Regions from separate parts of the Homo sapiens genome. Here all the other regions are linked to region 1. Evidence: promoter capture Hi-C in 16 types of primary human blood cells and fetal thymus (Javierre and others, 2016). All regions are on one chromosome and are shown on one strand. The core of a region is centred on a gene start or on the middle of the fragment in contact, and the rest is flanking DNA. Distances in the headings are between cores, read along the strand shown.

What was found. The method cuts DNA at HindIII sites, captures the fragments that hold promoters and counts their contacts. A CHiCAGO score of 5 or more calls a contact.
Region 2: a contact is called between a fragment that was not itself captured here and the fragment with the promoter of TMEM139 in region 1, in 2 of 17 cell types (neutrophils and total CD8 T cells). The highest score is 9.1, in neutrophils.
Region 3: a contact is called between a fragment that was not itself captured here and the fragment with the promoter of TMEM139 in region 1, in 1 of 17 cell types (M1 macrophages). The highest score is 5.3, in M1 macrophages.
Region 4: a fragment that was not itself captured here is called in contact with the fragment with the promoter of TMEM139 in region 1 in 1 of 17 cell types (M0 macrophages); the score reaches 6.2 in M0 macrophages.

What each region holds. Positions count from the first base shown.
Region 1 is chr7:143,283,508-143,286,207 of GRCh38, reverse strand. It overlaps TMEM139 (transmembrane protein 139), which reads right to left and starts at 1,250. Exons shown (of 3, transcript NM_001282876.2): 1 at 763-1,250; 2 at 6-267. The coding sequence starts at 250. It overlaps TMEM139-AS1 (TMEM139 antisense RNA 1), which reads left to right. Exons shown (of 3, transcript NR_133932.1): 1 at 1-231; 2 at 370-490. RefSeq lists an enhancer at 25-1,224. The HindIII fragment of the contact is 11,639 bases long and covers 1-2,700 here.
Region 2 is chr7:143,421,538-143,424,386 of GRCh38, reverse strand. All of the region lies in intron 2 of EPHA1-AS1 (EPHA1 antisense RNA 1), which reads right to left. Among named protein-coding and RNA genes, the nearest start is that of EPHA1, 14 kb to the right of the region's middle. The HindIII fragment of the contact is 391 bases long and covers 1,178-1,568 here.
Region 3 is chr7:143,514,621-143,517,320 of GRCh38, reverse strand. The region is part of intron 3 of EPHA1-AS1 (EPHA1 antisense RNA 1); the gene reads right to left. Among named protein-coding and RNA genes, the nearest start is that of TAS2R41, 38 kb to the right of the region's middle. The HindIII fragment of the contact is 3,016 bases long and covers 1-2,700 here.
Region 4 is chr7:143,488,407-143,491,106 of GRCh38, reverse strand. The region is part of intron 2 of EPHA1-AS1 (EPHA1 antisense RNA 1); the gene reads right to left. It also overlaps the pseudogene OR2R1P. Among named protein-coding and RNA genes, the nearest start is that of TAS2R41, 12 kb to the right of the region's middle. The HindIII fragment of the contact is 3,467 bases long and covers 1-2,700 here.

The DNA.
Region 1 (2,700 bases), core at 1-2,500:
CTCACCGTGCATTGCCTGAGGGCCCTGGGCTCTCAGTCTGCATTGATTGGAGCTGGGACCGAAGCCCCCATTCCAGAAACCGGACCAGGAGATAGGCAAACAAGAAGAAGCCACCCAATGTGAGAAAGAAATAAGCAACGGGGGTGATGTCCGTCTTTATGCCCAGCAAAGCCAGCCCCAGTAGGAAGGAGGCGCAGCACAGGAGGAGAAGCGGCTTCTCCAGTCTCCCCAGTAAGTGCATTGGCACCATGGCCCCTCCCCAGGCTCCTGCAAAAAGACACACAGCTATTGTGTCTACACTAGCAATTGGTGTCATGGCTGTGTCAGATACCAAAGTAACCATATGATATTTCTTTGTTTGGTTTCTAGGTTCTTCAATCTCAAATAAATCATCTGTAGAGTCCCCTCCAGTTCCGAAATTCTCTCTATGTCTTGGAGTGTGTGGAATAGCCAGGAAACCAGCCCAGGAGCTTTGACTCCCAGCCATTCTGTAAGTTGACTGTGTCATGGCTCTGCCTTCTTTCCTTTCTCCTTCCCTGTAGTCTCCCTTCCAGCTTTGTCCCTTACCACCATCCAGGATCCGGTCCTGGGCACGCCCTGCCTGGGGCTTCAGTGCACACTGGCATCTCTGGAATTCAGGTGATGGGGCAGGCCCTGCCCTTCCTCTGTTATTGCTCCTACTGGATCTCCACCCCCACCTCCCCAGCCAGAGGCCCTCAATCCAGCCCCGTTAGAGAGAAGAGGGGAGGGAGCCCCACTTACCCTGTCTGACTCTGTCTTTTCCTTTCCTCCGGTGTTAGCCCATGCTCCAGGTGGAGGGAGAAAGTGCACACAGGCGCACCAAAGCCACAGGGACACAACTGCTTGAGAAACAATTGTACAGGCAAAGGCCCAGCACAATGGCCGGAGGCCCTGATAACTCCTGTCCTCTTCTAGACCCCACATCTGCCAGGGCCCTCCTCTACCCTCTGCTGATCCTAACTTGTTAAACTCAGTTTGCAAATTTCCTGCCAGGAGGTAGCCCAGTGGCTGGGAGGCGGTGGGCAGGGGAACTCTTTTCTTTCCTTGTAACAGCAACAACCCGAGGCAGCCCATACCCCAGAAACAGCCTGTCAGAAGTTGCCAGCGCTCTGTGTAGCAAGGAATTGCAGATTCCCTCCTCACACCTCGGTCCCAATCCCATGACCCTCCCGACCCTCGCACCCACACCTGTCTCAGAAGTTCGTCGCTCACCTGTCTCCACAGACTGTAGAAAGTAGATGGGGTGGGGGGTGGTGGGAAGGGCCGGAGCGGGTAGGTGGAGCCCACTGGCCCCACCCTCTTTTTCTGTCCCAATCCCTGTTCTGGCCCAGTCAGTCTCCGCCCCTTTTCTCCCTAAGGCTGACTTCCAACTGCTGAACCTTGATTTGTTCTGGTTTTTACTCTCTCCACCCACCCATGCTGTACCCTAATGAGAGTGCACCCCTGACTCCCAATGATCTTTGTACTTAGGACCGGAGTTAGCATTAACCTTTCCCTCTCGGCGCATATTGTATGTTAATTACAGCCCTGGGCAGTTTGCCTTCTATTTGGGTAATTTACCTTGTGCGTCTCTCCCAAGTGACTGGAAGCGGAGACCTCGGCTTATTTAATCTCTGTAGATCATCACACAGTGCACTGCACACAGAAAGTAATGCTGTGGGCATGGAATGGTGTGTCCTGCTTCCATTACCCAAGTGCTATTTTTATGGACTCCCTGTATTCTGCAGACCTGTCAGAAGTGTTAGTGTGTATATTTCTTGACCCAGTTAACTCTTGAGTCTTCAAGATCCTCCTCCGAGGTGATGCTGCTTTGGAGCCTGCTCCAGTGTATCCACATCGTTCCTTCCTAAATTTGTCCCAGCATTTACCTGGTTATGTAGCATTTTTCTGCTTACTGATTTTCCTTCCACTGTGAGTTTCTCAAGGTGCGTGATTAGTTTTAATCATCTCTGAATCCTGGAAACTAACATGGTTCCTGAAACGTGGTAGGTCACTAACTAGAAGGCTCCCCTCTCACCAGGCCTCACCACACCTGTGAAGATCAAAGAGCTGTTCTTTTTAGTTGTGGGTCAGGCAGTTAAGTCGGAGTAGGGTAGGTGCTTGGAGGTAGAGAGTGAGTAGAAGCATACTTGGTCCTTGAGCCAGAGGGTGAACAAAACTGGGCCCCGTTCCTTCAGAGGGTGACCAGCAGACAGACCGAGGGAAGCTGCAGACCGTGGGCACAAATCCAATCCAGGCTCCCCAGGGACAGCTGGGGTGGGGAAGCATAGGAGAGGGTGTGTGTGTGTGTGTGTGTGTGAGAGAGAGAGAGAGAGAGTATGGGAATGAGAATAACTGTGTCTGTAGTGGTAATAAGTGTGGGCACTGGTGGGATATTGAAGATTCTCTGTCCCAGAGCCCCAGATCGATAGCAGAGAGAGGAAGGAGACATTAACAGGAAGGCTGTGGGAGTCTAAATGAGGTGTGTCTCTATGCAAAGTAGGCACAGGAGTGAGGGGGGCTGATTGTTGTTCTGTTTCAGCCAATTTCCTCACTGTTCTGCTCATAAGGGGAAAGTACAGCTGGAATCAGGACTGCAGTCTACAGTTAACATATGAATAGAAGGAAATTGGCCAAGGGTCATTGGTGTGTGTGATAGGAAAGGGGGTTTGTTAAGGAGTGAGTTGTGGGAATGGGAAG
Region 2 (2,849 bases), core at 124-2,623, 140 kb before region 1:
GCGCGGAACTGGCAGGCAGCTCCACCTACAGCCCTGGTGCGGGATCCACTGGGTGAAGCCAGCTGGGCTCCTGAGTCTGGTGGGGACGTGGAGAGTCTTTATGTCTAGCTCAGGGATTGTAAACACACCAATCAGCACCCTGTGTCTAGCTCAGGGTTTGTGAGTGCACCAATGGACACTCTGTATCTAGCTGCTCTGGTGGGGCCTTGGAGAACGTTTATGTCTAGCTTAGGGATTGCAAACACACCAATCAGCACCCTGTGTCTAGCTCAGGGTTTGTGAGTGCACCAATCAACACTCTGTATCTAGCTGCTCTGGTGGGGCCTTGGAGAACCTTTATGTCTAGCTCAGGGATTGTAAATACACCAATCAACACTCTGTATCTAGCTGCTCTGGTGGGGCCTTGGAGAACTTTGTGTCTAGCTCAAGGATTGTAAACACACCAATCAGCACTCTGTATCTAGCTCAAGGTTTGTAAACACACCAATCAGCACCCTGTGTTTAGCTCAAGGTTTGTGAATGCACCAATCGACACTCTGTATCTAGCCGCTTTGGTGGGGCCTTGGAAAACCTTTGTGTGGATACTCTGTATCTAACTAATCTGATGGGGACGTGGAGAACCTTTATATCTAGCTCAGGGATTGTAAACGCACCAATCAGCACCCTGTCAAAACAGACCACTTGGCTCTACCAATCAGCAGAATGTGGGTGGGGCCAGATAAGAGAATAAAAGCAGGCTGCCGGAGCCAGCAGTGGCAACCCGCTGGGGTCCCCTTTCACAATGTGGGAGCTTTGTTCTTTCGCTTCTTGCAATAAATCTTGCTGCTGCTCACTCTTTGGGTCCACACTGCTTTTATGAGCTGTAACACTCACCGCGAAAGTCTGCAGCTTCATTCCTGAAGCCAACGAGACCACGAGCCCACTGGGAAGAACGAACAACTCCAGACGTGCTGCCTTAAGAGCTATAACACGCACCGCGAACGTCTGCAGCTTCACTCCTGAAACCCGCGAGACCACGAACCCACCAGAAAGAAGAAACTCTCAACACATCCGAACATCAGAAGGAACAAACTCCAGACGCGCTACCTTAAGAGCTGTAACACTCACCGTGAGGGTCCGCAGCTTCATTCTTGAAGTCAGGGAGACCAAGAACCCAACAATTCTGGACACACAAGCTTTCGTGGTTGTCACCCAGTATTCCTGGGTGACGGAAACACTTCCACTGCAGAGTAGCTTTCTATAGAAACAGGCTCTTGGCATAGTGTCCACCAGGAGATGCTGGTCTCAGCATCTCCTGGTTACTGGAGGGAGCTCACGGAGTTTGGCATTCTTGAGCCTCTCTGAGCTGAGCCCAGCCCACAGCACCCTGATGCCCCACAACCCTGGGCAGCCATATCAGACCCCTGCATCCTTCTGCACACTGCACTTTGACTTAAAACCCAGCCTAGTCCACGTGGCGCCCTCCACTGAGTATGACCTTGGGGAAAGAGAGTAGTCCAGTGCTGAGGTTAGCCAGGCCAGTGAGCAGCATGCATTGTCATCATTAGCCGTAAAGGAGGCATGAAGCTTCACCCAGCTTTTGGGTTTTAAGGCAATTACTTTGCAGCCGTCAAACTGGGCTCCCACCCTCTTCCAGACCTAGACTCTAATAAGCATTAGGAGACCCAGAGACATAACAGGATGGGGGTGGGAGTACCAGATGAGGGTTAGAGTGAACTCCTGGGTCTCCTGTCATCACTGTAAGGTGGAGGGCTTGATGCACTCTGAGGAAGAAGGAGGCACCTCATCCTATGTGACTACATCATAGCCATCTCGGGTATGGTCAGCAAAAAACACCCCCTTACAGAAGCTCATGGGGCTCATTGTCAATATCAAGTATAACAGAAAAATTAGAACTCACCTTTTGGTAAGGCAGCTACAGCAACAGACCAGCACATTTCTCAAGCCCAGTTTGGAGGAAGAGGTTTTATACATAAAAGATGAATTTGTACAGTCATTTCCCCAGGTCCCCCCAGCCTGGGGGACAAATGACACATTGCAATGGCACTAGGCCCTGTGCGCCCTGCCAGCTTGGTCTGTGGGTCTCCAGACCTAGCCCTCTCATGGGCATCCAGCCCCTGCACAGCTGTCCCGGACTCTGCTCCCACAGCAGCTCTGCTGCCTGCTGTTGCTGTCCATCTCCACCGCTGCTCAGCCTGCCCATGACCTGCCACCAGCCTCCTGCAGCTCCCAGCCATAGAGGAGAGGTCTTACCTCTAAGAACTGTGCTCTTTCCATCAGCTTTAGGTAGTCAAGTCTTTAAGGGATCACACAGATCTTTTTTTCCCCATAGATGACACACTTTCAATGGGTATCTCAGAAAGCAGACACCCTGAGAAAACTTCCTGGATGGCAAGACCTGTGTCCCATTTTTAGTTCACACATCTGCATTCTCTCCAACTCTGGATGCAAGTTCCCTGCCTTCCAGGCATCCAATGAGGCAACATTCTTTAATGCTTCTTTACTTTGTGCACCATCTAAACCCCAGAGTCTTCAGAACCTAGCCATTGCTACCAAAGCCTTTGCATAAATAAGATTCCTTGTGTCTACACAGAGTGATGAGAGTTAAATGCAGCAACTGAATGTGAGTTCTGGTGTCAGAACTTCTGGGTTTGAAGGTCACCTTGACTATTCCTAGCTGAATAACCTTGATTTCAGTTTATTTATCAGCAAAATGAGCAAACCACATGAGTTCTTATAAGACTGAATGGCAATGTATGTGAAGGGCTTGACACGGTGCTGGTTCATATAAGAACTGCAAAACAGCTATCAATGTTCTGTCCCAGAGGCGCCTAGAGAGGCATGCAGAT
Region 3 (2,700 bases), core at 1-2,500, 230 kb before region 1:
GAGAGAAAGAAGCCAACAAGAAACTAACAGAGGGTTTCTTTTATTTAGACTTTCAAAAGACCTTGACAAGATCTCATACCAAATTTAGTCATCACAGATTCAGTAGGCGGCTTTATCATGTAAAAGGAACTGGCTCACAAGACAGAAACACCATGCAGGCAAATAACACATATCCCAGCGATGGAGGCTGAGATCATAAAAGGTTGGGGAGGGACAACACAGTGAAGTTGATAAATCCAGAGATGACATTTACCTCCTTTCAGTAAAGGAATTACCAAATTGATGAGGAAAAAAAAAAACACTAAAAAATGTGGAAGTTTGCATGACAGCAAAAAAAAAACAAGAAGAATAGTAAATGAGTTTTCTTTTATAAAATAAATTTAAATTTAACATATATAATGCAAATATATGTAAATTAATTATTTTCAAGTTATCTGTCATAAACCAAGAAAAAGGCCTGTATGATGTAGGGAAAGGAGGCATTACAGTAATTGCAGTTGTCGGCTGCTATGCAGAGGGAGCACAAAGACTGACATGACATTGTAGAAGACAGAGTAGTCAAATGAAATGATTAGAAACCACCTTTTGTTAGCTTCTTCATGCCTGGTACTATGTAATGGGCTTTCTTTATAATATGCCTGATTCTCACAGCAACCCTATGAATTAGGCATCATTATCTCCATTTAGATGTAGAGACTGAGGATCATGGAAATTGAGTACATCAACCAAAGTCAATATGGCACATAAGTGATTAAGCCAGGATTTTAATCTAGTGATGTCTTCTTCCATAGCTTGTACAGTCTCAGAAAGACAGTAGGAAGTGCAGGAGGGAAAATAAGTGGAAAGATAGAAATAGGTGGATAGATAGAAGACAGACAGACAGATAGACAGACTTCCCTACATCTATGTCTACTCATCTCCTCATAAGGTTCCCACACCCAGATATACACTCACTTTACTTCTTGCACCTCAGAAAGAGAAAAGGCACTAGGTAATCCCCTGAAACAGCACGCTTATGGAGAGTTCCATGGTGGGAGGGAGAATACTCAGAGAAAATATGACTTAAGCCTGTCAAGTAATAAAGGATAAAAGTAAAAATGCTTTCAGTGTTTTTCTGCACCTACTATGTATCAGGTCTGTACCAGAAATTTGTACATGTTATTTCTATGGAATCATCCATCATCAAGCCTCTTTTGTTACCCTCTGTTGAATCAGTGAGGAGTCTGAGACTTTGGAAGAGTTTATTACCTTGCCCCTTCCCCACATCAAGCATTCAGAAAACAACAAAGCAGAAATATAAACTATAAACAACAAAGCAGAAATATAAACTATGGAGACTCCTTTTACTTCACTAAGGACTAAGGCTAAAAAAAAAAAATGAATGTATAGTGTGTTATTCCTAAAAGGAATCACTGGATAAAAGTGGGTTCCAGAATAATTTATATAAATTCATAGACCAGAAGCCTATGAAGAGTTATTAAATGAGGTTAAGAAATCCAGGCATATTCATAATCTTCTAAGTTTAACTTCTTACCAGATCAGGGAAATGATAAAATTTTATCCTAAACTACTATAGGACAATGATAAAATTCTGCTGTGACCTCTCATTTGGTGATTTTGTAAACTATAATACTAGATCAGTAAGCTCAGGTCTACTCTGGAAGACAATTCTTACAGAAATGGAACCATTCAGCCAGAGGTGTGAGAACCAGGCTCTAGTCCAGTTCTCCTGCTAAAAGACCATGGTGAGATCCAAGTCTGATTAGTGACATCTCTGGACCTCACATGAAGGCCTAGAATGTTTGACCTTTAAGCTCCATTCCAGTTCAGCATTCTATGGAATCCTCAAAACCTGAAAGGGGCTGACTGGTCTAGCTCTCACATCTCCCATCCCACATCCACCCTTTAGGGGTGCTTCCATTGACTCTTGAAATGGCCGATTAAAAACATCATGATTGCAGATAATTTTAATTATTCTATACAGCAAAAAATCAAATCTCAGATCTGCATCTCCAGCCCAGCAAGGCTCTCAGCCACATCCAGATGTCCTGGGCCACCAGCCAGCCATGACTCTGTGGGTGCTCCATGGAGTCTTACCCAATTAAAAAAGTGAATCTGCCGGAACAATAACAATAGCAGCAATGAATGTCAAAGCTAAGGAGAAATTATTTTTAGATTTGCTATCTTAGATTATCTGCATTGCTGCTCACATCCACATGTCCTCAAGAAAAATGTCAACAAAGGGAAATCTGAGGACAGAAATGCCTAGAGACCGTGGGTGATTTCTCTTCTGCAGAAGGTGGGGTATATGAAAAGAAGGGTAAGATGTGTCTCATGAGGGAAGGATGTTTTGGAAAAGGTATAAATAAGGACGACTATATAGTGGATAAGACTATGGACTATTGGGGGCTAGATTGCTTGGGTATAAATCTGGCTATACTGTTAATTAGCTAGATGATGTTTCATTTCCTTAGGCCTCAATTTCCTCATCTATAACATGGGTATGGAGAGAGTCCACTAACCTTATTGCACTGTCACTAAGAATAAGTTAAATTAAATTTGCAAAGTCCTCGTGAGCATTGCCTGGCAGTCTCTTAAATGTTAGCTGTTATAGCTGATGTTATTCATCACTCGGAAGAGTAAGAACATCTGCTTTCTCCCTGGGGGAGGAAGGTGGCTTAGGCAGGCCTTGTGGTGTTT
Region 4 (2,700 bases), core at 145-2,644, 200 kb before region 1:
ACTCTGAAGGTGAAGATTCTGTCTATAGTAACAAGCAGCATACTGATCATAGTAGATCAGCATTGATCTACTTCTGCTGATACAAGGGAACCATCTCCCTAGGGCAGCAGTCAAAATTCCAGCCCCTGGCTCTGACCCTAGAACCTGATCTCCAACCTTGAGAACCCAAGGCCAGTTTCTATTCTTAGCAGTTTCTACAGTGACACCTTCTGGCCACTGCAGGACCAGGGCTGAATGGAGACAAGATGCCAGCTCCATCCAGGTCCTCTCTGCTCTCTCCCTCCACCAATGTTTCCAGCCAGAAGAAACATAAATTGAATTATGCATTTCAGCTTTCTTGCATTTTATTCTGTGGTTCTGCTCTCATTTTCTTAATGCAGATGTATGGCATTTGTCCTCTGGCTGTAGTGGCTTGCACAAACATGCTCTCATTAGATTCTCAGATTTGACCAAAATCCATTTTTAAAAATTTATTATTTGATCCTCTGGCACTGCTGATTTTCTAAACACAAATCCCTAACATTGAAAGGTGGAATTTCCTAGAGGTTGGTTGAAAGCATAGTGCCTGATATACTCAATAATGTTTTAATAAATGAATCAGTTTGTTAATTAAATTTTTTAAGAGCAGGAAATACATCTGGAGATTATATTTATATTAAGAAAAAGTGATGGCACTTAATTTTATTTTTCAAGAGGACCAGTCAGCATGGTAGAAGGGAGATGAACTGGTACAACCTTGGCTGACAAGGGAGAATTCACTCTGTTTGAAAAGATTCTGTGGGTTTCTATCACCTCATACTCAGTAGTAATACATGAGTATCATTGGTTTTCGAACGCTTGCATCACAACATTACTTTGTTAATCATTTGTTTAAACATCTAAATAAATGCCTGAAACTCACTATATAAATTGCATGTTATTAAGGAGTAAGGCATAACTACTGTCATAATTTAATTACAAAGCTCCAAATTTAATTAGCCAAATACTAACCTTGTTCTTCTCCTTCATAGCACTTAGCACAATTATACTTAATTAATTATTTGTAATTATTGATGTAATCTCTGTGTCCCTAGATAAATTATAAGAATCAAGAAAGCAAGGGCCCGTGTTTCTATCTTTCTTACTTACCAGCAGGTAACCAATGCCTGGCACAGACCCTGGCACACCAGCAGGGGATTAGTAGATATTGGTTTCAAGGACTTCAGCTTTATCTGGACTTGTGGGAGAAATGAAAAGGATGTGAGAGGATTCCTGTCTGGACTTAGTGGACCCTAGAAGAAGCAGGAAGAGCAGCTCAATCCAGAGTTAAGAAATGAGCTGAGAAATCCTAGGACATGCCTACAGTTCTCAAGTGTCTGATTACAATACTTTACCCACTGCTTCCCCACAGTGAAGAATCCTTCCTTTCTTTCATATCTTCCACATTCCTTCCCTCCTTTTCCATTTTCCTATTGTCTTTCCTTAGTTTTTCTTTGCTTCTTTCATCCTTTCTTCTCTATCATTCCTTCTACATTGATAGATTACCTCCTACACAACTGTAACTGTGATCGGTCCTCGACGTGAAAGGATGGCCAAAACAGGGACTTTGTCCTTCAGAACCTCTCAGAATTTGGTTTAGTGTCAGAAACCAAATGTCCTTTTCTCCAAGACCTTTGCATTCCCTCCTAACCACCTAGATTGAAGAAGTGAGGTTCAATGTCCCAACTGGGAAGGGACAACATAACCTGGGTGAGTGAGTTCATCCTAATGGGTCTCTCCAGTGACAGGCAGACCCAGGCTGGACTCTTTATCTTATTTGGGGCTGCCTACCTGCTGACCCTGCTGGGCAATGGGCTCATCCTGCTCCTGATCTGGCTGGACGTGAGACTCCACCTGCCCATGTATTTCTTCCTCTGCAACCTCTCACTTGTGGACATCTGCTACACCTCCAGCAGGGTCCCTCAGATGCTGGTGCACTGCACCAGCAAAGAAAGACCATCTCCTTTGCCCGATGTGGGACCCAGCTCTTTTTCTCCCTGGCCCTCGGAGGGACCGAGTTTTTGTTGCTGGCCGCAATGGCCTATGACCGCTACGTGGCTGTTTGCGACCCCCTGTGTTACATAGCAGTGATGAGCCCAAGGCTCTGCATGGCACTGGCAGCTGTCTCTTGGCTAGTGGGCCTGGCTAATTCTGCTATGGAGACGGCACTGACCATGCACCTGCCCACCTGTGGGCACAACGTGCTGAACCATGTGGCCTGTGAGACACTGGCACTGGTCAGGTCGGCCTGCGTGGACATCACCTTCAATCAGGTGGTCATAGTGGCCTCCAGTGTGGTGGTGCTGCTGGTGCCCTGCTGCCTGGTCTCGCTGTCCTACACCCTCATTGTAGTTGCCGTCCTGCAGATCCACTCCACCCAGGGGCACCGCAAGGCCTTTGGGACCTGTGCCTCCCACCTCACTGTGGTCTCCATATCCTATGGGATGGCCCTCTTTACCTACATGCAGCCTCGCTCCATGGCCTCAGCTGAGCAGGAAAAGGTGATGGTACTCTCTTATGCTGTGGTGACCCCCATGTTGAATCCTTTCATCTACAGTCTGCGGAACAAGGATGTGAAGGCAGCTCTGAGTCGAGCTCTGATGAGGAGCTCTGAATTAAAACATTAGAGAGTGGTTTGAGTAACAAGAAGGCCTCACTCTGAAAACAGTGGGCATTGGACTG